Regions from separate parts of the Homo sapiens genome. Here all the other regions are linked to region 4. The links are contacts of gene promoters, found by promoter capture Hi-C in human tissues and cell types (Jung and others, 2019). All regions are on one chromosome and are shown on one strand. The core of a region is centred on a gene start or on the middle of the fragment in contact, and the rest is flanking DNA. Distances in the headings are between cores, read along the strand shown.

Region 1 (7,277 bases), core at 3,678-6,177, 1.1 Mb before region 4:
ATTTAGGTAACAAGGATCACATTTTCTATCTCATTCAGTCCCCCTTAAGCTATGAAAATCTCTGTTGAGTATCTTTCACTTTCAAACCCCAAGGAATAAAGTATTATTCGATATCAGGGGATCTAGCCCCCAGTATTTCAACGTAGGTTCTTTTCTATTTTCTTTAAGTGTCGGCCGGTGTGGGAAATAAAGGGAAAGAGTACGAAAGAGAGAAATCTTAAAGCTGGGTGTCCAGGGGAGACATCACATGTCGGCAGGTTATGTGATGCCTCCTGAGCCACAAAACCAGCAAGTTTTTATTATGGATTTCAAAAGGGGAGGGGTGTACAAATAGGGTGTGGGTCACAGAGATCACAAGCTTCAAGGGCAATAAAATATCACAAGGCAAATGGGGGCAGAGCGAGATCACTGGACTAGGGTGAAATTAGAAATGCTGATGAAGTGTCATGTCCCACAGGGCACGCATTATTGTTGATAACATCTTATCAGGAGACAGGGTTTGAGAACAGACAACCAGTCTGACTAAAATTTACTAGGCAGGAATTTTCTAATCCTAGTAGGCCTGGGGGTGCTACGGGAGACCAGGGCTAATTTCATCCCATACCTACAACTGTATAAGACACACATTCCCAGAGTGGCCATTTTAGAGACCTATCCCTGGGAATGCATTCTCTTTCTCAGGGCTCTTCCTTGCTGAGAAAAAGAATTCAGCGAAATTTCTCCTATTCACTTTTGTAAGAAGAGAAATATGACTCTGTTTTGTCTGGCCCCGCAGGCAGTCAGGCCCAATGGTTATCTCCTTTGTTCCCTGAAAATTGCAGCCATCCTGTTCCTTTTGGATGCCCAGATTTCATATTGTTCAAACACACATGCTCTACAAACAATTTGTGCAGATAATGCAATCATCACAGGATCCTGAGGCTACATACATCCTCAGTTTACAAAGATGACGGGATTGAGAGATTAAAGTAAAGACAGGCATAGGAAATTATAAGAGTATTGATTGGGGAAGTGATATATGTCCATGAAATCTTCACAATTTATGTTCAGAGATTGCAGTAAAGACAGGCATAAAAAATTATAAAAGTATTAATCTGGGGAACTAATAAATATCCATGAAATCTTCACAATTTATGTTTTTCTGCCATGGCTTCAGCTGGTCCCTTCGTTCGGGGTCCCTGACTTCCCGCAACAATTCCTGACTTGCTCGCTATTTTCATTCTCAAATCCAAGCACTATGACTTCTTTTGCAGCTAACTCTTTACAACTTGCTTCCTTAAAGTTGACCAGTTTCCACTGAGTGGTGATCTTCTATTAGTTATTTTTATTCCTGGACACCTGTCATATACAACAGGGGTCTCCAGTCCTGGGGCCACGGACTGAACCGTTAGGAACCCGGCTGCTTCCTAATATTGAAGCTTCAGCATATTTACAGCCACTTTCCATCACTCAAATTACTGCCTGAGCTCCACCTCCTATCAGATCAGCATCAGCATTAGAGTCTCATAGGAGCGTGAACCCTATGCTGTGCATGCAAGGGATCTAACTTGGGCACTCTTTATGAAAATCTAATACCTGTTGATTTGTCACTGTCTCCCATCACCCCCACATGGGACCTTCTAGTTGCGGAAAAACAAGTACAGGGCTCCCACTGATTCTACATTATGATGAGTTGTATAATTATTTAATTCTATATTATAATGTAATCATAATAGAAATAAACTGCACAACAAATGTAATGCACTTGAATCATCCACAAACCACCCTCCACCCTGATCTGTGGGAAATTGTCTTCCATGAAACTGGTCCCTGGTGCCAAAAAGGTTGGAGACTGCCAGTAAATAACATTATTGAACTCTGTGGCTGTTGATACTCTTTTCCTAGTCTCTTCAATATAAGAAAGTTTTTCTTCTGAGTCCCTTGGTTGCTTGCTCCTCAACCTTTTCTTGTTCTCTAGAGATAAATGTTTATCAATGTTTTTTCTTGTTGGCCTCCAGAGTCTCATAATTTCAAGCATTGCTTTCCAGCAGGATGCATTTGCACCATGCACCATAAAGCTTAGTTATAGCTCAGCTCTAACATTCTCCTATATTTATTTATTTATTTATTTATTTATTTTGGAGATGGAGTTTAGCTCTGTCTCCCAGGCTGGAGTGCAGTGGCACAATCTCTGCTCACTGCAACCTCCATCTCCCAGGCTCAAGCGATTCTCCTGCCTTGGCCTCCTGAGTAGCTGGGATTACAGGCACATGCCACCATGCCTGGATAATTTTTGTATTTTAATAGAGACAGGGTTTCACCATCTTGGCCAGGCTGGTCTCGAACTCCTGACCTCAGGTGATCTGCTCACCTTGGCCTCCAAAAGTGCTGGGATTACAGGTATGAATGACCATGCCCAGACTAAAGTTCTTCTAATTTTTATATGTTTTTATGATATTTCCAGGATGTCCCATAGACATTTTACATTTAAAATAACTAAACTGATCACCTTTGTCTCACACACTGAACCCGTATTTTTGACATCCCTATTTGTATTCACGGCATTAATCTTCTTTAGTCACCCAGATTTGAAATCTTCATCATCACAAACACCTGATTTCCCTTCATTACTCACGGATAACTAATGTCTACCTCTTACATTTTTCAATATAGTAGAATCTATTGAATCTATTTCTTAATTTTTACCTCAATTTTCATCACCCTAGATTAGACCCTAATTGCCACCATGATGACCACCTGCAATAATCTACCAGTGAGTTTTATCACATCTTGAAGACTGCAGAATTTTGACAGTTAAAGATGGAGGGAGGTATTATATACAAAGGGCATATATTTTGCTGAAGATCTAGGATTCACTTTAGAATCTTTAAACAGTTGTACTGGGAGAGGGTCACACAGGTAGAAGAGTAATAAGATTTGAAATGCAACTTGGAATAAGATCTTGAATCCCAGACTATTGAGAAATATTCACAAATATGCTTCTCTTCCATTTTATTTTTTTCTTTAGTATCCGTAGTACCTACTAAAATGCTTTGCATATTTTAGATGTTCAGAAAATTCTTATTTCAACAAACAAAAGTATTATAAGCATGTTAAATTACTAAAATGCACCTTGATTTATTTCTTTTAAAAGTATGTAGGACACATAAACTATCATTTTGCTTCTACAGTTCATCTTGTATTTAAACACAATAAAATATCAATTTTAATGTTTTTCTTAATTATTCACTAAGTGTCATATATACATATCACTGAATATATTACAGACATACATGTATTGTATATGTAATATATTAAAAGATAAGGATTAATTGAAGGGGCTTATCTGGTGCTAGAGTTTTGCTTTGCTTTTGAATTCTTATTTAATTCTGTTCTATTTACTGAATGTCCATCTCTGCATAATATTTGAAAAGCCTCCTGAGTTAAAAATAGTTAATTCTGGGAAAGAGCTCAGCTCTTGGTATTTAGCCATATTATTCATCTTATATGGCTGATACATTTATCATGCGTTGATTCAAATACATGCAGCTTTTAACTTTTTGCAGAAACTATAAGGTCATACATCACAGATTAATATTCTTCTCATGCCCTCCCCCCACATTCGTACACAAAGGTCTCTTGTGGTTAGTGATATTAATCCATTCCTGTGGTTTTGCAGTCAAGAGGAATATAGTGCAGCGTGCCTCCTCGTTTAAAACAAAAAGGCTTACGGTGTTCTTTGGCTTTATGCTGCTTGGCTTTCGCCAGAGGACAGCATCCATGAGAGGGATTTGCTTTGTTTTTCTAATTATCAGCAGCTGGGTGAAACAGCTTCCAAAGGGGGAGAAAACAACACAGAGAATTTTAAGCCATGCTACTAACAGGTGTTCCCAGGGATCAAGTTCTTAAACAACCCTAAGAGTAAGATGAGATGCACTTTGTTGAACTGTTGCTGATGGTAGAGGGAAAATAATCAGGAATTTGCATACAACAACTCATTAAGTCCCCTTCCCAGTATATTAAATAGACTTAATTTTTCGAAAGGCAATTTTGGATAAAGATAGTGAATGGTGTGCTGATATGAAATGACTACACAGCATAATTTCATTTTGCCTTGGTTTGTTACTCCTCCTCTCCTTGCCATATCTCCAATATAAGCCCCCCCCACATACATACATACACACTCAGATGTGTACACACTCATGTGAGTGCACACATATTGCATATTTACTGATAACATTGTCCAAGCTGCTGTGATGACATCCAGGGTCATTCACCTACAGTTTTATGCAATTATAAATAAAATAGAATTCAAAAAGAGCACAAGAACATATTGTGAAATAGGTGAGATAGCTCCGTGGGCTAATCCTGAATGGCGAGACTCATCAAATTATTTAGATTCTATCTTGAACTTTAAAAGCTGGTATAAATCTTAGTATGAAAGATTTAAGCAAAGAGAGATGGGTACTGGGTAATATAACTGCATGAAAGTATTCTTAAATAAATATAAGCCTATCTCAAGTTTATAGAAAAATAACAATCCCAAAGAGGTTATCCCTCACATAAAGGTTACAGTTTTAGCAACCGGGGCATTCTACCAGAGCTTTCAGGAGGTGATTAAAGTAGACTTTAAGCTTCAGTCACTTGCTGGGCTCTTTCACCAGCATGTGAAAATTTGCCACCTCATGGTGACCTGGAGTTTATCAAAGGCCAGTCAGTGTTAGAGAGAGAAGTAATGGCAGTAAGAGAGAGGATCACAAGAACAGTTAAGCCAAGACACTCAGTCTGTAGGCTCACGTTTCTTCCACTCCAGCACACTGGAGGAGCTACTCCCAGAAGAAGGCAAGGAAGAGACAGCTCTGAGCCAGACCTTGCTTAAGACAACTTCAGCAGCCTTCTGTGACCATTTGAGCTTCAGCTCAAATCCAGGCTGGTGTAAAAGGAGAAGTTGATTTTTACATTGAGTTTACATTAAAATTTAAAAGGTATAGATTTTAGTAATTAAAAGTGCCAAAACATTTTGGATTCTGCTCAAATGGCACTGAAGGTTAAGAAAGGAAGATTGATGGAACATAGCTGAAGGTAATGATCACAGAAAAATAAAATCACTGAGTGGGAATACTAGACCATGATTCTCTCAGGTGGATGACAGCGAACTGGCTGTCTACTGATAAAACTTGATATAATCTTAAAAAATTCCTGAAATAACCCTCCCCTACCTCTTCCCATTACCTCTTTAACATAAGTGGAAAAATAAAAAAAGACTAAAAAACTGCCTGCTTTTCTGGGCAAAGGCAAAATCTGTATTTAAGAGTGTTAATTATGACTCAATGACTAGATCTGAGTTCCACATCATTCCCTTTTTAATATCATCAGCTGTGTCTTGGCACTCAAGTTTTCTACGAGTTTGTATCATATGCAAATGTATTCTTTATTTCAGTTTTGTCTTTTCCTGTTATTTTTATTTTAAATTAACAAACTAGAAAGACAAAATATAGTTTACTATCCCCAAAATGTATGCCCACTTCTGTTATTGCTTTACCGGTTTTTTCTCTTTAAAATTATTTTTTAGGGTGAAGGGTTGTTACTGGTGGTAGACAGTATCATGGCACAATTGCTAGTAAAAGCTATACTTTTGGCTTTTAACTAAAATCTATGCTTAAACAAATACTATTTAAATAAAAAGATTAACTTTCTCAATAGATATGTTTTCTATACAATTTGAATACTTTCTTTGTGTATAGGTGTCATCAATAGGTAACATTTATATCAACAAATTATTATCATTTACTAGAATTTCCTGGAAATAAAAATAATTTTTAAAGACTTTAACCTATCTCTGCTTTACAAAACAAGCTGTTTATTAATATAAGAGTTCAGGACAAATATTTCTGAAAGAACTAAACATTATGTTGGTTGACCTACAGGTTCTCACCTACAGAGGGAAGCTGAGCTACCCTAAGCTGGAGAAGGGTGACTCCCAAACTTCTCTTTACTATGTAACATCTTTACTCTCTCTTCCAATTGCAGCTTTTTCCCTATCAGAAAACTAGGTCTCCTAGACTCTCTAAATTCAAATTCTTCACTCCACCAAAACCTGAATAAATCTGAATATAAACATGTCTCTGCAAATGAGTCATAAATAATCTTGCGTGCATCCATAGGTATTTTAAGACACCCTAACCTAAGCACATTACAGGTGCAGTGAGTAGCATGGCTTCTATGACGAAGTTGGCAGAGCCAACAACTCACATTTTTTACTCATATTAACATCTGTGTTCACAATACGGCATTGAATATTCATATCTGCCCGGCTTTTCCTATCTCTAGAAGTTTTCCAACCCCTCTGCCCTGCTGTACTTTGGCCATTTCTAGTTGCCACTCGAAGTTTTTCAGTCTTTGCAATTTTTATTTTTCTTTTGTCAGCATTTTCTTTTATCCCAGATCTTCCCCTCAGTACACAGATTTTTCCACTTATTTTTAGCTTTCCTTATCTTCTGAGCTCCAGCCCTTGCATGACTGTTTTTCTAGACTTTTGTTCAGTGGTTAGCTAACCGGGCCCACTACTCCTTTGGATTTTGGATCTTCTTGGTTAGTGAACTGAATGATTACCATGTTTTCTTTACTTCTGCTCTAATGAACTTTATTTGAACTACAGTCTTTAGTTCTCCTTCTGGCTGCCACTTCTGCCCTGGGAAAGACAACCATTACTTGAGAATTCTGGTTAATCAAAATGTTACCGTCCTTGAAAAATGGTCTAACATTAATGAATCTGACACCCAAATAGACACATAATTATATCTGCAACCTGGCTTTTGCAGAATTTAAAAATACAAATAAAGACTATGGTCGTGTTTTTTTTTTAAATTTTTAATTCAGTCAACCAAATCAAGGCTGCTTCCTTTTTCTTTTTTTTTTATCAAAAGGCTTGAGCTCGATAAAATGAACATGATTTTTTGCCAAGCAATTCTTTTTTTTTTTTCCCCTTAATTTTTAAGCCCATGGGTATTTCAAGGGAAATTCAACCCACATGTTTCTGATTCATTTACACTTAATTCATTAAAATATTGTTTTGTAAGAGTTATTTGATGTCCAAGGGCCTTATGAGTCTTTTTATATGACTTCTTATGCCATTTTTTTCCTCAAAAACAGGAAGTGGTATTTTGCTAAGAACTGAAACTCCAAAAGGGTTGAATTTCATATGAATCACATAAAGCACACTAAGATGATTGTATCTCTCCTGGGTCATCCTTGCTTTGAGGAAGCACCTGAAACAGTTACCTGCATTGACTATATGT
Region 2 (6,663 bases), core at 4,041-6,540, 1.5 Mb before region 4:
TGCTACTGGCATCTAGTGGGAAGAGGCCAGGGGTGATGTTAAATGTTCTACAATGCACAGGAAAAGTTCTGTAACAAAGAATTGCCTGGCCCCCAGTGTCAATAATGGTGAAGTTGAGAAATCCTGTTTTAGACTGTAAAGAACTTGAGGCACGGATGCTGTCTTATTTATCTTTTCATTTCCAGTACCTCAAACATTATGTGGTTTATAATAGAGACTTTATAATTATTTATTTAATGGGTAGGTCATGAATGAATAAATAACTAGAAACATGAACGACATAAATGAATGAGTACCAGATATGTAATTTTTGAAATCTTCTAAAAAGCTCAATTGGTTTTGCTTATTTTGATTGATACAAAATTAACTTTGGTAGTTGAGTAGAAAAATGATCACATCTGATCTTTTCAGGGCCACAGATACTGGTTGATCGCTTAAAATTCACATAGCTCATGAAGGAGAGGAGGGAGCTAACATGGCAAATATTAGCGGTCAGCATCAAGCCCTTGCCCAACGACCTCTTCACCCTCATGTCTCCTAACAAATGAGGATGTTGCAGCACTGGAAAGACCTTCTTGGCTCTATGAGAAGAACAAACTGGATCCCTCCATTCAATGATCAAAAAGTTCACCAGAAATGGTCCCATGGGCATGTAGCATCTGCACTCAGTAATGGGAACTGATAGTGAAATTGTAGTCTACATGGCACATGGTGTGCTATTAACAGTTCCTGGCCAGGTGTTGTGGCTCACGCCTGTAATCCCAGCACTTTGGGAAGCTGAGGGGGGTGGATCACTTGAGGTCAGGAGTTCAAGACCAGCCTGACCAACATGGTGAAACCCCATCTCTACTAAAAATAAAAAAAATTAACCGGGCGTGGTGGCACACGCCTGTAATCCCAGCTACTCAGGAGGCTGAGGCAGGAGAATTGCCTGGGAGGCAGAGATTGCAGTGAGCTGAGATTGTGCTGGTGCACTCCAGCCTGGGCAACAGAGTGAGACTCCATTTTAAAAAAACAAAAACAAAAACAAAAAAAACCCAAAAACTTCCCTTGGCAAAAGGTGTGCCACTGCATGGTTTGGTTGCTTAAAAGTCATCTCCTAAATCCAACCCTGACTGAAAGAAATAGTGTAAGATGGTGGCTGTGCCAATGGCAGAGCTCTGTGGTAAGACGTATACAAAAGACATAGTGACCGCGGTTTAGATTATTCTCAGATGCCGTTTATGTCCAGCAAAGATAGCTCATGTATAAATGTCCGCAGTGTTCACCCTTAACTAGTTTAAATAGTTTTCTTTATTATGCTGTCTTTCTGATAATTTTAGATGTTCTTTACAATATTTGACATTCTCATTGATTTTTTTGTCAAATTGATGTGAATTTGGCAAACAGTCATTTAGAAGATTAGAAATTACAATGTACTGATTTCTTAAATGGTCCTTTATATGAAAGAATAAGCTTGGTTAGCAAGCAGATTTAGTAAGAAAGATCTGTAATCGCACTGGAGTTTTTTTTCTGCTCAAAGCATTTCCTGACACTTTCTTCTCTTTTCATCCATTTTATCATATGTTTTTTTTCTATTATTGTACCTGTGTGATTCATTGTATTTTTAAATGTCTATCTCCTTCTAGACCATTTTTGCATGAGGATTACTATTTTAAGAGTAAGTGTTCTACTGAGATATGGTAGATAATGCATATTTTTAGATTATTTTTAATAAATATATTAAAACGACTATGGAATGAATAAATTTAAAAATACTTAATTTTTAGTATCCCTAGAAATTAATAATCACCACTTTCTTTTCGTGAGAAAGCAATATTTTGTGAAATGAAGGGAATAAATCGCTTAGTTGGTAAAGGCTTATATCAGATCAATGGCAGAGGGAGAAAGGAAGCATTCAGGAGTGAGAGGGAATTCCAGCTTGTTGCAATCTCACCACTTGCCAGCTGTTCTATGATAATTGATCCTTAAACAACCCAGAGAAGTATCTGGTCTTTAAGAGAAGATATTTGTCCTCCATTTTAAGGATACAGAATCTGAAGCACAGAGAGCTTGATTCATTTGCCCCAAACAACACATCTCATCCTGTGTAATTTGAGTTTGAATTCTCATCTCATAGGAGAATTTCCTTCTATCACTCCGCTACCATCTCATAAGCAAATAGATGAGGCCTGTAGTTCTCTACCTTGGCTGCATATTATCATGACTTGAGGAGCTTTTAAAGAATACTGATGCCCGAGTCTAACCTCCCAGAAAGTGTAATATAATTGTTCTGAGGATGGAAGCCTAGGAATCTTCTCTTTTTTTATGTTTCCTGGGTGATTCTAAATTGTTACAAATGTTGAGAACCACCAGATTAGGACTTAACGTTCTTGCAATTTGTTTTATTCTTTGTATCTGAGCAAGTGTATTTATTTTAGATTTTTTAATAGAGCTTTTACATGAAATTCACAAAAAATTAAATTTACCATAATTTGAATGAATCAGAGTGACTTCTTTATTGTTTTGCAGAATAAGGCAGGATGTTTCTTATTAAGTCAGCTTTATTACGTGGGGTCTATAATTTAAGATCATAAGGTTAATTGTGAGTAAGGAAACAAAGTGTTAGCAGTGTGAAGGGTAAGGAACCTTTTCAATTAAGGAACCTTTTCAGTTCTCTACGCCATAACCTTGGAATCAGTTATTAGTGGTCTGGCTTATCACTGGAAGATTCTTGAGACAACTGCAAAAGCATGTACAGTTGACCAGGGCCTTGAGCTGGTCCTGGCTCCCAATCATCTAAGCATTAGATTGGAGGTGGTTCTTGGCTTATTGCATTCGTTTGAAAGATGTATTCTCACATCAGAATGCTTTTGTCTGTGTTTTCCTCTCCAGGTTAATGTGTTTGGAAGTTATACTGTGGTGTTTTGCATTTTAAAGTGTATCTCTGATGACAGTATTTTCTATGAGAAGTTGATCCCATGACTATGCCTTATTGTACATGAAACTTACATGTCCCCTGAAGTACCCTGTCTTCACACCACTGCTTACCACCACTTTTATTATATGTACTTTATTTCCTAAGTACTTTTATCCTTTTTGTTTATGTCTTTTTCTGTATAATTTCCCCTTTCCCAACCTATGTCTTAGGCCTACCAGAGATTTTTGTTATGTCTGTTATGAGTCTTATTCATCCTTGGTGTGATCTATAGGACTAAAGAGGTAGATTGCCCCTAGACTTAATATCAAATTCTTTCTGTTTACAGTTAATAGTGGTTTTGTGTATTAAGGAAAATACACACCTGAGATTTAGATTTTAGAAATAATGTTCATAAAAACTAAAATTTAACAAATGATGATGTTATGACTCAAAACAATGTGCTATGAATTAAGCTTTTTAAAAAGTCAATTTAATATGTCCATTTTTAAAGAAAAACTCAACAAAATTTGTTTATCAAGCACTAAACGCTTAAGATATTAGCTATTAGATGCTTAATAAGATGACATAAGACAAATCTGATTCATGAGTTTGTTGAAAATATAAATGTTAACATTTTCAAAAGCTTTATTTTGTAATAAAAATGTTATAGCTCTTCAGTATGAAAACTCACGTTACAAACTAGCCAATAAATTTGAATTACAAAGTTTTCTGCATGTACTTATTTAATATCTGCAGTTGGCTATATTTTCTTATTTTTGCCTTGGGACCCTATAGATTTTGCACAGAGGTGGAAGAGTTGTGGTCTCACTGTAAAGAAAATGCAGTTCTTCATTTTTCTTTCCCTTTCTAAAGGAAAGGAAAACCTATGTGTTATTTTGAAGTCTTCAAATCTGACTGAGGCCATTGAAGGTTGGTCAAGAATGCTGAGAGCAGAGAACCCTGCTTCTAGGACCTGGGATCTATGCTTTCTTAGCATTGAACATCAACTCATTGATCCTTCTCCCCAACTTTCTTCCTTCTCTACTTGTACATCTGTAATAATCTCCCTTTATCTCCCTAATATTCATTTAATTCTTGTGCACTGCAACTGAGGTTTCCAGATACATGTGTATGTTTTATGGCATGTGAAAAGATTGATGTGTCATCTAATTGAAGTTTGTATCATACAAAAGCTCTATTCTTCAACCTTATTTTTGCTGTTGCTATTACTATTTTTTTTTGAAACTAGATCAGCGATGTTGAGATTAGCTTTGAGCACTGGTTGTGAAATTCCTGCTGAGAAACCATAATGAAAATACAACTTCAGAATATAAAGTACTAGAAGTATTAGAAGTATGTCTGTAATGTGCTACCAAAAGGATTACACATGCATACCCTTGGTTGTATTGTTGTTTCTGAATTTTTGGACAGAATTGTTTCCTAGCAGCATTTTTCTGAAATTGCTTGACTTTTATTTATGTAAAGATTCCTGATTACATAGGATCTGTAAATGATATGTTGCACTTTTTTAATCCTTTGGAAAATAATTACAAATAAGCAGTTCATTGTGACCTTATTGGCTGCACTTGACTTGGGTTAATGTAGAGGTAAAGATGAGCGATAAGAGAAGAATCAGCCACTTCCATAGTAGGTGAACAGAGTCATTAGACAATATTGATAATTAGACAGAGTTATTAGACAATTTTTTTCCTTTTACAGTGTCCACACTGTATGTGTGGTCCACAGGGCAAAAGGCTATAACATCTCACAGGACATGTGTGGTTGGTAATTAAAAATTATTCGTAGAGCAGACATCATCTGATGAGAAAGCTTTATGGAGAAAGTGGCATTTAGTTTGGAAATTATAGCTAGTTTGAATTTTGATAGGTAAAAGTGCAAGAAGGGAGACAATAGTGAGAATAAAAAACAGCAGTGAATATGGAGTCAGAGAGGTGGAAAGGCCTTGGAAATTGTTCACTTAGAATATGAGAAATGTATGAACAGGTTGCTTTGAAAGATGAGGTTGGAAAAGCAGCTGTTGAGGACTGTGTTCCTGGAGATGATATGCTATTTTTCTGCTAGTGGAGTTTAGGAGATGATTTTTAGTATAAAATCAAAAGCTTGAAAGAGTTTATCTGGAATTTATACATGATCTAGTCCACCTTCCTCACTCAGAGATGGAAGTGGCCTTGTTGCTGATTAAGAACAGGGTATTGGTATTAAAGGGAAAGACCAGACTCCTAATATTCACTCCATAATTTATTAGCTCTGTGAACTTAGATGGATTACCTAACTTTCCTAAGCTTTGTTTTCCATATCTGCAAAACAGAAATATAAGGTTTATTGTGAGAATAAGAAAAATGATGCATGTAGTGTTTAGTGTAGTGTTTGGAATAGTAAATGCTCCCAAAACATTTGCTATTATTATACTGGTGCTATTGTTATCATTTGTGACTTCAATGCTACAGGCTCTCATCTTTCCTTGCTCTGTTCTTACAGGAATTGCATAAATTCGCTAGAATCAGAAGTCAGTTGTCCTGATCTCAGAACAATTTGGTGTGTACAAAGTCCAAGGTTTGAAAACTCATCAAGAAGTCAGCATCCTGCAAGAATCAGCCACCCATGCCACACTTTCTATAGTAACTTCTGTTCTGCATCAGACTACATCACTCTGGCTTTCTGGTATGCGGATTTGTATTAGTCCATTTTCATACTGAGACCAGGTAATTTATGAAAAAAAGAGGTTTAATTGACTCATGGTTCCACATGGCTGGGTGGGTGTCAGGAAACTTACAATCATGGCGGAAGGCAAAGAGGAAGCAAGGCATGTCTTACATGGCAGCAGGGGAGAGACAGAGAGAGAGAGAGAGAGAGAGGGAGGGAGAGAGAGCGAGCAAGGGAAATGCCAGACACTTATCTAACAACCAGATCTCATGAGAACTCCCGCACTATCATGAGAACAGCATGGGGGAAACTGCCCCCAGGAGCCAATCACCTCCCACCAGGTCCCTCCCTCGACATGTGGGGATTACAATTCAAGATGAGATTTGAGTGGGGACACAGAGCCAAACCATATCAGAATGGTAGGAGTAACATAGGGGTAGCAAGATTGCATCCTCAAACTCTTGTATTCTGCCTTTTGAATATTGTTGACAACGGTATTTTCTATAAACCCTAAGCAGCTGTAAATCTAAAGGAATAAGGCAAACATGTTTTTCCTTTCCAAACATTAAAATACTTTTATTAAGTCATCCAATGAGCACTTTCTAGGGGAAAAAATAGTTTATGTGTGGTTTGGATGCTAAGCATTGACTCAGTGTCAGGCCTATGAAGGAGAAGGCCAAGCTATGCCTGCTGACACACAAGTAATCATGGAAAAAATAAAGACTGTCCCAAGTTTGTTAAATGAAGCCATACGTTTGGAAAAGCATGATATGCCAAACTCTTATATTCTTCTTTTGTTGTTCAAGATTATTCTCTTTCTTGCCCATCAGAATCATGGTTTTTCCTTCCAATACACAAATGTTCCCAGATCTCACTGTTGCCATAATCTTCTCCCAAGTGTTCTATATTTTGTACAGTGCTAGTCATACATAATATTAAGCAATACTTGAGAAAGCAAGGCATTTGAAATGACTATTTAGGCTAGGAATTTTATAGAGACTACATGTAGTTGTTCTTCTTACTTTAGGGATCACTTTTATAATACAAAGAATGACTGCAATATAAGCTTTGAAAGACTGACTCACTAAGGAAACAAGACA
Region 3 (6,679 bases), core at 1,205-3,704, 1.8 Mb before region 4:
GGGAGGCTGAGGCAGGAGAATTGCTTGAACCCAGGAGGCAGAGGTTGCAGTGATCTGGGATCTCACCATTGCACTCCATCCTGGGCAACAGAGCGAGATTCTGTTTAAAAAAAAAAAATTCTTTCAGGCTATGCGTATAAGGTGTTTAAGAAACAAATAAATTTTGTGTTTAGATTTGGGTCCCATCCCCAAGATAGCTTATTATATATATGCAAATATTCCAAAATCTGAAAAAAATCCAAAATCCAAAATACTTCTGTTCCCAAGCATTTTGGATAAGGGATACTCAACCTGTATCAGGGATGTCTGTGTGAAAGAGATCATTATTCTACACTGTTACCAGCACTTGCGAAAAAACATTTTACATACTGGTCAACTGTTAATTTAATTTATAGAGAGATTGGCCATTTAAAAAAGTAATAGTAGTTTTATTGAGATATAACCACTGAGGTATAATTATTGAGATAATTCAAATACTATACAAATCACTAATTTAAAGTGTACAATTCAATGGCTTTTACTATATTCACAGAGTTGTGTAACCATCAGCACAATCATTTCTACAACATTTTTTATCACCCAAAAAAGAAACCCCATACTCATTAGCAATCACTCTCCGTTTATCCCCATGACCACTTAAAAATTTAAACATTTAACAGTTTTCTTTTCATGGGTTCTTTATATATCAAGGATATTAAAACTTTTCCCTATTACATATGTTATAGTTATTACTTAAGGTTTTTTGATTATTCGTGTCTCCTTTTATGACATGAAGAAGTTTTTCCTTTTGAATAGGTATAATTTGTGGGTTAGTGAAGGCACAAAGTAATGCATTTATAGTTAACGTTTCTGAACTATATGTGTATATTGAATGTACTGGATTTATTGCATTTAGCTAGGAGAGGAACCTAAGCCTTGATTGTTCCCTGAAGATATAGGTCCATTCCTTTTGCCTAGAGTGCCTATAAATGTTGAGATATAAACAGAAACATTTTGGGCACAATATATTTTCCTAATATTATGTGTATATTATAGTATTAGGTGAACCTTGACTGCTGGATGCAGTTCTGTTCTGTATGTGTCAACTAAAATAATTAAAATAAAGAAGGGAAATGACCAAAGGAATAAAGTCACTGTCACTTGGGAACACACTGCAAAGATTAAGACTATTCAGTTTTGAAAAGTTAAAGGGGAGAATGGCTAGAATGTGATTCATGCTTATGTTGATGATTAAGCAATTTTTGCATCTTGAATGAAATAGTTTTTTAAGTTAAGAATTATAGGTGGCCCCAATGAAACTGTATAGTAAAGGATCAGCTCAGCAGATTGTTCACATCCTGCACAATCCAAAGAAAGGATGACCCTTACTCTGGAGGTAACCTCTAAGCCCTTAGAATATCCTCCCTGATAACAGTGTCTGTTTACCTAGAAGCCTTGGGGCCAGAAAATCTATGCAAATAATTCCATTATGTCTGACATTGGGCCAGACAGTATCAATGTGACCACTAGAGGGACTGGAGACTGAAGATCAGCCATGTGGGTGGATAACTATACCCATATAAATGACTCCCAATATAAACTCTGGCCTAAAGGCTTAGGTGAGCTTCCCTGGTTGGTAATACTCTGTGCATGTTGTTCCACATTGCTGCTGGGAGAATTAAGCTGTTCACACAAATTCACTGTGAGAGGACAACTGGAAACTTGTATCTGGTTTCTCTTAAAATTTGCTCTATGTACCTTTTACCATTGCTGATTTTAATCTGATTCCTTTCACTGTAGTATTACTGTAACTGTGAGTATCACAGTTTTCTGAAGTTCTGTGAAATCCTTCAAGATTATTGAGCCTGAGGGTGATCTTGGGGAGCTCTGAACACAGGAACATGCATTGGGAACTCTGGCATGGCGTCATGGGTAGCTATATGTCTCATTTGCCCAATTACTCAATGATCCTTCTGGGAGAAGTAATAAGAATGATAGAGATGGATGAACAGGTTGAAAGCCTCTAAAGTTGATATAGAACAGAAGCATACAAAGCTATCTTCTAATTTTCAGGGAGTACTTTGAGTTGATAGGTAATTCACCTGCAGGAAGAAGTCAAATAATAAAAGAGTGCTTTTAGATTTGATTTTATGAGTTGCCTCTTTCATATCTGCTGTCCTGGCCCTGGGTGCATGTACTCTAAGCAACTTGAGATAGAGGCTTTGAAAAAAACCTGAAAAATGAAGATAATAAAGCCATATTTGTAGAAGTTATTTAGGAACCAGAGAGAGAAAGGAAAATGCTTTTGGGAAACTCTTAATATCTATAAAGATGATGAGAGAACTCTTCCTGTCTCAATGAAAAGTCTTCACTGCAGGATAAGTGTAGCCTATCTGGGAGCTATGGTGATAAATGAGTGATGTCCCTGAGCAGTGACATCATAGTCACCAAGGAGGGGTGGTGGTCAAGAGCCAGAGCAGCAGGGGAAGATAGAGGCCACCAGGAGGGGGGGTTGAAATAAAATAGAAGTGCAGAAGAACTGTAATGGCTGCTTAAAGGAATTCTTAAGTCTCCCATGACGTCTAGGGCGTTGGGACTTGGATTTGAACAACTTTATTTCATAGACATTGGGTCTGACTACTTTAGTGAGCAAAGCTTTAGTTCACTATTATGGTGGTCCCTTTGAATCTCAAGGTTAGAATGAACTTTAAAAGTTGTCTGGCTGGGCGCGGTGGCTCACGCCTGTAATCCCAGCACTTTGGGATGCCAAGGCGGGCAGATCATGAGGTCAGGAGATGGAGACCATCCTGGCTAACACGGTGAAACCCCGTCTCTATTAAAAATACCAAAAATTAGCTGGGCATGGTGGCTCGCGCCTGTAATCCCAGCACTTTGGGAGGCCAAGGCGGGCAGATCATGAGGTCAGGAGATGGAGACCATCCTGGCTAACACGGTGAAACCCCGTCTCTATTAAAAATACCAAAAATTAGCTGGGCATGGTGGCTCGCGCCTGTAGTCACAGCTACTTGGAAGGCTGAGGCAGGAGAATCACTTGAACCTGGGAGGCAGAGGTTGCAGTGAGCTGAGATTGTGCCAATGCACTCCAGCCTGGGAGACAGAGTGAGACTCCATTTCAAAAAAAAAAAAATTGTTTAGGTCAGTCTTCTAAAGTCACCCAAGCAGAACCCAGTGATGTCTCATTAGCTACTCATAAGCTCATAGCTCATGGACCTGAGTTATAGTGTTTGCAATGGGAATCCAGTCTTTGTTGGTCAATGAGACTCTTCCTGCTATGGGAGGTTTCAGTTTGTGGGGTTTTTTTTGTTTAAAGTGACACAGATGATGGGTTGGCAGAGGGAGTTATATGTCTAATAAAAAATAATGTAGCAACAAAAGAAATGCTCAGGAAACAGCAGCATTAATCTCAGGTGTAGATGGCTTTTTTTTAAAAACAAGAAAATTCTTACAATAAACTCTTTTTGCATACTGAAAGAGGAGGCCAGGAGCTAAGTCTCAGGTGAGTATTTGGAGTTAAATTCCTGCATCTTGTAAAGAAATAGACACCTTGGAATTGTCCTTTGGTGCTTGAGAAGTTGAGAACTGGAAGAAGAGAGATGATAGAAAAGATCTAGAGAGAAAGTTTCTGGGAAACATGGCAGGAGAAAGTGACCCAAGGAGACAGAAGATCTCACTTACCCATTATATGTTTGTGGTAAGATGTTTGAAATGTACTCTTAGCAACTTTGAAATATGCAATACCTTTTTATTAACTGTACTCACCCTGCTGCTCAATAGATCTAAAAGCCTTATTCCTTCTGCCTAACTGAAGCTTTATACCCTTTGATCAACACCTCTCCAACACCCTCCTCCCAACCTCTGGCAACCATCATTCTACTCTCTATTTCTAACAATTTGACTTTTTAAAATCCCTCATGTAAGTGAGATCATACAGTATTACTCTTTCTATTCCTGGCTTATTTCACTCCTCATGATATCCTCCACATTCATCTGTGTTCTCACAAATGACAGAATTTCCTTATTTTTAAAGGCTGAATAGTATTCCATTGTGTATATATACCACATTTTCTTTATCCATCCATCCATCCATTGATGAACACTTAGTTTACTTCCACCTCTTGGCTATTGTAAATAATGTTGCAATGAATGTGGGAGTGGAAGCTATCTCTTTAACATACTGATTTCCATTCCTTTGAACATCTATCCAGAAGTGGGATTGCTGGATCATATGTAGTTCTATGTTTAGTTTTTTAAGGAGTTAAGGAGGCTAATTTTAATGTCTAGCTTCAAGTCTCCTTGTCCTATGGCTTCCCTTTGGGTTGATCTGGATACCAAAACGTGATGCGTAAGAGGAAAAATCGATTAAGTTGGATCTCATAAAAATTAAAAACTCTAGCTCTGTGAAAGCCCATGTGAAAAGGATGGAAATATAATATATAGACTGGGAGAAAATATTTGCAAACCACATATCCAGCAAAGGCTTGTTTCTAGTATATATAAAAAATCAACTAAACCCCCAATATATGAAGAAAAAAGTCAGGTAAAAAATTTAATTAGTAAAGGGCAAAAGGCATGAATAAACACTTCAATGAAGAAGATATAAGACGGCAAAAAGCACGTGAAAAGATATTCATTGTTAGCCACTGGGAAAATGCAACTAGAAACTACAGTGAGATACTAGCACATACCTATCTGGATGGCTAAAATATGGTAATGAAACCTAATGCTGGCAAGGATGCAGAGAACCTTGACCACTTCTACATAGCTGGTGGGAATATAAAATGGGACAACCACTCTGAAGAAGTTTCGTAGTCTCTTACTTATAAAACTAACCTGCAATTGCCATAGGACCCAGCAGTTGCACTTTTGGACATTGGTTGCAGATATATTGAAACATGTTCATATAAAAACATGTTGATGAATGTGTATAAAAGCTTGGTTTGCCTTCAGCAAACGAATAGTTAAACCATGACACATCCATACCATGGAATACTACCCAGCAATAAAAAGAAATGGAAGACTCATACATTCGACAACTTGGATGAATCTCCAGGGAATTAGGCTGATAGAAAAAAGCCAACCCCTAAAGGTTAAATACTGTATGATCCCACTTATATAACATTTTGACAAAATTTTAGAATTGGAGGATAGCCTAATAGTTGCTGGGAGTGTACAAATGGGTGGGGTAAAGAGGTGAGTGTGGTTATATAAAAGCTGAGCCATTTCTCATTGTATACAAATTTCACAACATCATGTTGTCCACCATAAATATGTATATTTGTCAATTAAAAATGTAACACCAAAAAATTTATGACAATTCTTTTCTACTACTGAGAATGTTTTCAAGGGTAAACATTTATTTTTTAAAGTAAAGGTTCTCATGGGATTTTGGAAGACTTGCTTATAAGTAAATCTGTTATTTAAATTTAGGAAATTTTCTTTAGAACTTTATTGATGTCTCATAGATACAAATATCCCATTAACTTTGTTTAATAAATAAATGAATTCACTAGCTAGGCTTTGAAGATATCTCTGAAATCAAACACTGTTTGATGACCTTATCTTTAATCTTTTGGAGGACAAGAATGTTTTTTATTCTAACAACAAAGGTCCTTCATTTGTGACCAGATCTCCTCCTCTTGCCAAACGTGTTCTTTAATTCTGCTGTGACAGTTGCTGGTCTATCCTAAGCCATTTCATCCCCTTTTCCTTGAGGGCAGAGACTTGATTTCATCCTGGTGTCACCTTGTCATGAGTTCAGGGTAAGTGACAACCTCTCTGGACCCCAGAGAGTGAATTATGTTTGGGCTAAGGCAATCATGGTGGACTCATTTCCTTTGTAGACATTGATTTAGGGATGGGCATGTGACTACATCTAGCCAATAAGACCTGAGGAGAAGTCAATTTTGGGAGCTTCTGGAAACTTCCTTGCTAATAGCAATTGAGATACAGGAAGAAATTCACCTTCTCTTTGCTGGGTATTTTTGTGTCTGCAGTTGTTGGCTGATGCTGCCAATACCATGTTTGGACTGTAAAGAGGTCACATGACATTCTAAAGATGACAAAACTGAAATAGAGAAGGCACAAGGGTTCTTGATGATATTGCTTTGCTGCTTCATTGCCATATCATAAGCCTTCTTAGTGTTTGAACTACTTCAAATTGGATAGTCTGTGACTTGCATCAAAAACATTCTAATGGATTACTTAATGCTTAAGGAAAACTGAATGAACACATTTTAGTGAAAAACATGTTCAATAATACATAGAATAACCACTGTGATGGTTAATATTGAGTGTCAACTTGATTGGATTGAAGAATGAATAAAGTATTGTTCTGGGTGTGTCTGTGAGGGTGTTGCCAAAGGAGATTAACTTTTGAGTCAGTGGCCTGGGAGAGGCAGGCCCACCCTCAATCTGGGAGGGTACCATCTAATCAGCTGCCAGAGCAGCTAGGATAAAAGCAGGCAGAAGAACGTGGAAGGACTAGATTGCCTGAGTCTTCCAGCCTTCATCCTTCTCCCGTGCTGGATGCTTCCTGCCCTTGAACATTGGACTCCAAGTTCTTCAGCTTTTGGACTCTTGGACTTACACCAGTGGTTTGCCAGGGACTCTCAGGCCTTTAGCCACAGACTGAAGGCTGCACTGTCGGCTTCCCTACTTTTGAGGTTTTGGGACTCAGACT
Region 4 (6,829 bases), core at 1,361-3,860:
GTGCAAATTACTTCCTTAGAGTGACAGATAGTAATTTTTTCCACAACGTAGCAGCTCATCCTAATCCACTAGTGTAATGTTTTAAAAATACTACCAAATGAAGTTTCCAAAGTGTCCAAGTTACTTTCTAAAAAAAAAATTATATCGAAGTAGAAATTTTCTGAGATGTAAGAATTTATTCATTGTATTCATAAGATTTAGTATTTATTTCCTTGTGAATATATACCTCTAGTAAATATTCTGTGCTTGATATTCATGTTTGGAACTTTATCTGTGTCTATCCTGTTCTCCCCATGTATTTTTAAATATTTGAATAAACTGAGTACAAATGTCACTATATAATTAAACTTAAAGGCATAATATTCAGATTCAGGATTCAGCACGGTGTTTGTGAAAGAGGAGAAAAGCTTCATTAAGAAGAAAATTCAAGCCGTCACTGTGTCTCATCAGGTGGGAGAATCCCTGGAGGTTATGAGTTCAAGACCATCAAAGAAAAGAGAATCTGTTGGAATTTCCTGAAATCCTAAATAACAAAATCTATCTGTGAATGAAAATAATTGTAATTAACAAATTTTAACCACTGTCACCTAAAATGCCTATTAAAATGATTCTTTGGCATGAACAATGACAAAATTGTTAAATTTATTGAATCAAGGTTGTATTAGAAATGGTGTTTAGTGCCAAATATTGGACTCCTTTTCACTGTAACTGGTTAAAAAGATAAAAGTTTGCTATTTGTAGGTGCAAAGCAAGGACCACAAAAGAGAACGGCTAATGCAAGGCTCAAAGGCCTTGGTGGGATAGAGAAAATGGCTGGAACCTCCTATTCTGACCCATCCAGCTGTTAGCATTGGCCTGGGTCAACTGGCCACTGAGAGGCTGAGGCATTGTGGAATTATAAAGCAATGGCCTTCAGCAATAGTAACTTCCTCCCTGGTCCTGATGTATTTCAGAATCTATCAGGGGCTGTTGGGTGTCCCTAAGGCCCCAGTGATTTCTTTATTTATAAGTTAAAACAAGATGATACATCTGCCCCTCACAAGACTCCAGAGGGTGTTCCCAGGCACACGGCAATGGGTATTGTTGCCGGGCAATTCTGAAATTCCTTCCAGAGGATTATTGCCACTCTAAGAACCTCCATCAAGCTCTGGACCCTCATGGTTCCCTCCCAGAGAAAGCGATCAGCTTGGGGCCCCATTAAGGCACCCGCCCTGCTATCCCCAGCGTAGCCAAAGTTAAACGTAGAAAAAGATGGAAATGTACAAATTACACCACATTCATTTTTCACTGGTGCATTAGTTAATTAGCCTGAAGAATAATTTGGGCATGGAGGGAGCTCTTACCCCTACAGTAGAAGGTAGACCTTCTAACCATAAGTCGTCGGGTTTTCCTTCTCCCTTCTTAGAATGATAATTAGAGGAAACAAAGAGGTCAGAGGAAACGAGTAGCAGTGATAATGTCACCCGCGTACTAATAAGCACCAATCTTCCTTCCGCCAAAAGTATTCTTTTTCTTCTAAAAGGAATTTCTGAGAATGAAGGTAGGTCAAGGCCTATGGCGATAAGTGGTTGCTTTAGAAGAGACAAAAACAGATATAGGAATTTATTATTAAAGTATCATTTAAGCAAAAAATAAAAGTATGAGCGCAAAATTTTAAAATCTTTCAGGGAAAAAAAATGAGCGGAATTCCCTCTAAGAGTTAACTCTTTCTCGCTCTGCCTTTTTAGAGCAAAGGAAGTTCCAGTGGGCTGGGAGTAAGGGACAGATTGTGGACCCTGACGAAAGGCGTGCTGGAGAAAGCTGGGAGCCCGCCGTTCGCACACAAAGCTGCGGAGTTCCCAAGCGGCGGGCGTTCTCGCCCCGGGGTACCGCAGCGCGCCAGGAAGCGCCCTGGGCTCTCTGGCTGTCCAGCCGCTCTGCTGGTGGCCGGGAGAAGTTAGTCACCCGGAGCCCGAATCCGGCGAGCGTCAAAGCATCAAGAGGCTGGAGAATGGGGAGGGAGGAAACCGGGTGCCGGGACGGAGGGGAGGAAGCGAAGGGAACGCGGTGGTTAGGGGACGCACGGGAAGCTGAAAAGCTCTGGCTGGTGGATGGAGTTGCACGGTCTGCGAGGCCAGAGCGCACGGGTGTGCAAAGGGGAAAAACTTGCGGCAGGAACTTCCCACCGAGGGCGAGAAAAGCAGGCAAGAAGGAGGCAGGGAGAGACTTGAAACGTCTCAATAACTTTAACCAAAACACCCGTTCAGGAGATGAGGTAAGCCAAGGTTAGCCAACCCCAATTGGTTGTGAAATATCAGACAGACCCGGAGCCGCTGTGGCTTTAAAAGTGGCCAAGGAAATCTGTTTTTCTTGCCCCATTACTTTTTATTTTCCCCTCTCCCCTCCTACCACCTCGCCGGGTCCCAGTCCCTTCCTCCTACTTCGTCTCCCTTTCCTCGATCACCCTCCTCTTTTGCCCTCCCCCATCTGATTAGGCGCGGACTGGGAAGGGTGGGAGTGGTGGGGGAAGCTCTCCCTTTAAGAGGCAGCGTGCAGTGACGAACTGTTGAAATTGCCATTGCAGGATGGCATGCCGCTATAAATTCATTGTTCCACCTCCTCGCATCTTCACAGCGCTCGCGCTGCTCTCGGCGCTCGCAGCTGCCGACTGGGGATGACGGCGGGCAGGAGGAGACCGCAGCCGAAGGGACACAGACACGCCGCTTCACCAGCTCGCCTCAGGCTGCCCCCCTGCATTTTTGTTTTAATTTTTACGGCTTTTTCCCCTCTCTTTCTTCCCTTCCTCCTGGTCCCAGCAGAGCCAAGGAAACCCACAAAATAAGAAAGGAAGTGGGCCCCGGAGCTTGGAACCTCCACAGCCGGCTTGTCCAGCGCAGCGCGGGGGCGGGAGGCTGCGCGCACCAGTTGCCAGCCCGGTGCGCGGTACCTTTCCTTACTTTTCTTGAAACAGCGATCGTGCCTGCATTTGGTGGTTTTTTGGTTTTTGTTTTTTTCCTTTTCCCGTATTTGCTGAATCTCCACTATCCGACTTTTTTTTTTTAATCTTTTCTTTCCCCCCCCCCCCACCCCACCTCTTTCTGGAGCACGAATCCAAACATTTTCCCAAGCAACAAAGAAAAGTTCGCACGCTGGCACCGCAGCCCGGACAGGCTGGCGCTGCTGCCGGGCCCCCCTCCCTCCGACACTTGACTCAATCCTGCAAGCAAGTGTGTGTGTGTCCCCATCCCCCGCCCCGTTAACTTCATAGCAAATAACAAATACCCATAAAGTCCCAGTCGCGCAGCCCCTCCCCGCGGGCAGCGCACTATGCTGCTCGGGTGGGCGTCCCTGCTGCTGTGCGCGTTCCGCCTGCCCCTGGCCGCGGTCGGCCCCGCCGCGACACCTGCCCAGGATAAAGCCGGGCAGCCTCCGACTGCTGCAGCAGCCGCCCAGCCCCGCCGGCGGCAGGGGGAGGAGGTGCAGGAGCGAGCCGAGCCTCCCGGCCACCCGCACCCCCTGGCGCAGCGGCGCAGGAGCAAGGGGCTGGTGCAGAACATCGACCAACTCTACTCCGGCGGCGGCAAGGTGGGCTACCTCGTCTACGCGGGCGGCCGGAGGTTCCTCTTGGACCTGGAGCGAGATGGTTCGGTGGGCATTGCTGGCTTCGTGCCCGCAGGAGGCGGGACGAGTGCGCCCTGGCGCCACCGGAGCCACTGCTTCTATCGGGGCACAGTGGACGGTAGTCCCCGCTCTCTGGCTGTCTTTGACCTCTGTGGGGGTCTCGACGGCTTCTTCGCGGTCAAGCACGCGCGCTACACCCTAAAGCCACTGCTGCGCGGACCCTGGGCGGAGGAAGAAAAGGGGCGCGTGTACGGGGATGGGTCCGCACGGATCCTGCACGTCTACACCCGCGAGGGCTTCAGCTTCGAGGCCCTGCCGCCGCGCGCCAGCTGCGAAACCCCCGCGTCCACACCGGAGGCCCACGAGCATGCTCCGGCGCACAGCAACCCGAGCGGACGCGCAGCACTGGCCTCGCAGCTCTTGGACCAGTCCGCTCTCTCGCCCGCTGGGGGCTCAGGACCGCAGACGTGGTGGCGGCGGCGGCGCCGCTCCATCTCCCGGGCCCGCCAGGTGGAGCTGCTTCTGGTGGCTGACGCGTCCATGGCGCGGTTGTATGGCCGGGGCCTGCAGCATTACCTGCTGACCCTGGCCTCCATCGCCAATAGGCTGTACAGCCATGCTAGCATCGAGAACCACATCCGCCTGGCCGTGGTGAAGGTGGTGGTGCTAGGCGACAAGGACAAGAGCCTGGAAGTGAGCAAGAACGCTGCCACCACACTCAAGAACTTTTGCAAGTGGCAGCACCAACACAACCAGCTGGGAGATGACCATGAGGAGCACTACGATGCAGCTATCCTGTTTACTCGGGAGGTAGGTCCAGCCGGGATGCGGGGGTCCCAGCGCTGATATCAGGAGGTAGGTAGAAGGGAATCTTGCTGGTGGCTTTGCTTCTCCCTCAAACCTCCTGCAGCTGTGGATGTGTTTAACTGCTTCTTGCAGGAAATCCAACCAGCCTTCAACTCTGCTCCTGTATTCACGTTAGCCCCGCAGAAATTTTTGCCTTAAATGCCAAGACTTGCTTAGGTGATGATGAAGACCCAGTAGTGCTGCATGTCATCTAGTCTGAGGTGTTGTGGCATAGGAACGTAAACATAAGAAGGCACAAGGATGCTTGGGGAAATGATACAGTTAAATGGGGAAAAGGAAGGAAAACAAAGTTGCCTTTGGGATCATGGGTCTTCTTCTTTCCAGTGAAAATAAAATATAACCTTGTCCCACCTAATGGAAAGGGCTGGATGGTTCACTCACGGTACTCACTGTTATCCGATGACCTTCTTTTGTAAGTGTCCACACCTTTTTACTAGAATCCCTTCTGTTACACAGAGGATGAGAAAACTTTCTCAAGGACTCTTTTTCCAGGTTGGATTCCTAATGGAGTTCTTACATGTCCACCTTGGAATCTCAGTTCCTGGGAAGGAAGGAATGTGGGCGGGCCAGCAGGGTACAGAGACCCAATCAGATGAGAGGACAAACTTGTGAGGTTCCTTAACAACTCCTTTGCTTAGTCGACCAGTGCGTCGCAAGCACTGCCCAGGCCAACTCCGCCGCCTAGGGAGGGTCACATCCCGTTTGCGTGTTTGGGTTTTGGATGAATATGTTTCCGAAGCCCCAGTGCAGAAGATCTGGGCGAAGAGTCAAGACAGAAGGAAGAAATGTTTTCCCAGCATTTCCCCCTTTTAAGAAAGATGGTTATGGGGAAGCAAAGAAATGGATCTTTAAGGCTCAGAGGCTCAGGGAGGAACGCAGTATCTATTTACACAGTATTTGACCACTACGTTAGTGTGACATTTACACAAAAAGTCTGGGTTGGTTTGGGGCCTGGCTTGCGCATAGTTCTAAGCCTCAGTTGTCACAACTCGACTCTGATTGGCAGTTTTAAGTTGTGCCTCTTAAATGCCTGGTAAGAATTGACTTCTAAAGCTCATTCTTTAAGTATTTGAGACCCATCCAGAATAGATTAAGGATTACAAACTTTGAAGTATTATGTAAAATCATGGTATGAAATGAAGCAAACAGAACAAGGATAGGAAATTAAATGATGGATTGCAGACTTTAGAATCACACAGCTTCGCTACCTAATTCTTCTATTTTTACTAAGGCACCCCTGGTATGAAGGAAAAGTGTTGATAAATTTGGAGTAGAGAAACACTTGTGGTTCATAGGGTGGACATTAATGTAAACCACATGTAAACAAAGATGCTGGAGGGCGGCAGTTTAGGGAGAGCCAAGCAGCGCGCAGTGCTGTGCACAATGGAAAACATTTTTTTCCTCATTAAGTGATTTTCTGGAAGCCATCCTTTAATTCCTCTGCACAACATTAGTCTTTGAAGCGGTAGAACATTCATTTGTAGCCTTCTCTGCAAAATGAAGTTCTGTAAAACTATCCATTTCTTGTTAGGTTTCCAAGCTCTTTTTTTTTTTTTTTTTTTTTTTTTTTTTTTTTTTTTTTTTTTTTTGGTAAGCAACTTTCCGTGTCTGGGGTTCCTTGCTCTGCTACATCACAAGAGGATGCCAAGAAGGAGGCTTTGGAGAGTTTATGGAAGGAGGTTCTCTAAAGGAAGAGGAAGAAATACTTTTGTAAGCATACTGCGCCAAGGAGTGGGTCATTTTAGTAGTTCACTTTCATTTTTAAACACAAATCCACATTTCATAATTTTAAAATAAATAAAAATTAATAGAAGGTCTGTTACTTCCTACCTCCTGCCCCATAACATTCCTAATTGTTTCCCAGAAAACAGGAAACTACTCAGTGATTCTCAATGATTTGTCGATTACTTTTTCCGAATTTGTTTTTTGTTTGGATAGTTAACTGTCCCTATTTTTCCAAAGTCTGAAACTTAACAGCATATTTTAAATAGATACAAAGCAAGGGACAAATAAATTAATGGTCCATCTTAATTTTTGTCAGTATTATAAGGACATGCATTTTTCAAACTAGTCTACACATGGAAAATATTTCACATGGGCCCTCTCTGGTCTCCTTGCCAAGCAGAAGCATACTTTTAGGAAAACAAATTTCATTTGTGGTTGGCCCTGTAGTATACACATCTAACTTCACAAGAAGCAAATATTTGAAATGCATGTGTATTTTCAATAGATGCGCCCAATTTAAAAGAGTGTTACTAATTAGGGGGTTGAAAAAAATTTCAAGGCATTTATGCAGCATTCATTTGAGAGTATTTCACAATGCAAAGTGAACTTTGCCTAATACTTCAGAGCATGAAAAAAA

Evidence for each region. Contacts are between HindIII fragments. The study calls those that stand out against the background at their distance.
Region 1: a fragment that was not itself captured here is called in contact with the fragment with the promoter of ADAMTS5 in region 4 in 1 of the 25 tissues and cell types used here (aorta).
Region 2: a fragment that was not itself captured here is called in contact with the fragment with the promoter of ADAMTS5 in region 4 in 1 of the 25 tissues and cell types used here (dorsolateral prefrontal cortex).
Region 3: a contact is called between a fragment that was not itself captured here and the fragment with the promoter of ADAMTS5 in region 4, in 1 of the 25 tissues and cell types used here (dorsolateral prefrontal cortex).

The regions. Positions count from the first base shown.
Region 1 is chr21:28,066,110-28,073,386 of GRCh38, reverse strand. All of the region lies in intron 1 of LINC01697 (long intergenic non-protein coding RNA 1697), which reads right to left. Among named protein-coding and RNA genes, the nearest start is that of LINC01697, 21 kb to the right of the region's middle. The HindIII fragment of the contact is 3,184 bases long and covers 3,336-6,519 here.
Region 2 is chr21:28,445,208-28,451,870 of GRCh38, reverse strand. No RefSeq gene overlaps it. Among named protein-coding and RNA genes, the nearest start is that of LINC00161, 91 kb to the left of the region's middle. The HindIII fragment of the contact is 3,666 bases long and covers 3,458-6,663 here.
Region 3 is chr21:28,776,631-28,783,309 of GRCh38, reverse strand. It overlaps a transcript of HEMK2 not described here. Among named protein-coding and RNA genes, the nearest start is that of HEMK2, 110 kb to the left of the region's middle. The HindIII fragment of the contact is 3,832 bases long and covers 539-4,370 here.
Region 4 is chr21:26,962,869-26,969,697 of GRCh38, reverse strand. ADAMTS5 (ADAM metallopeptidase with thrombospondin type 1 motif 5) reads left to right here and starts at 2,610. Exons shown (of 8, transcript NM_007038.5): 1 at 2,610-4,410. The coding sequence starts at 3,307. LOC124905050 reads left to right here. Exons shown (of 3, transcript XM_047441063.1): 2 at 1,728-2,254; 3 at 2,614-3,042. The coding sequence ends at 3,042. The HindIII fragment of the contact is 10,779 bases long and covers 1-6,829 here.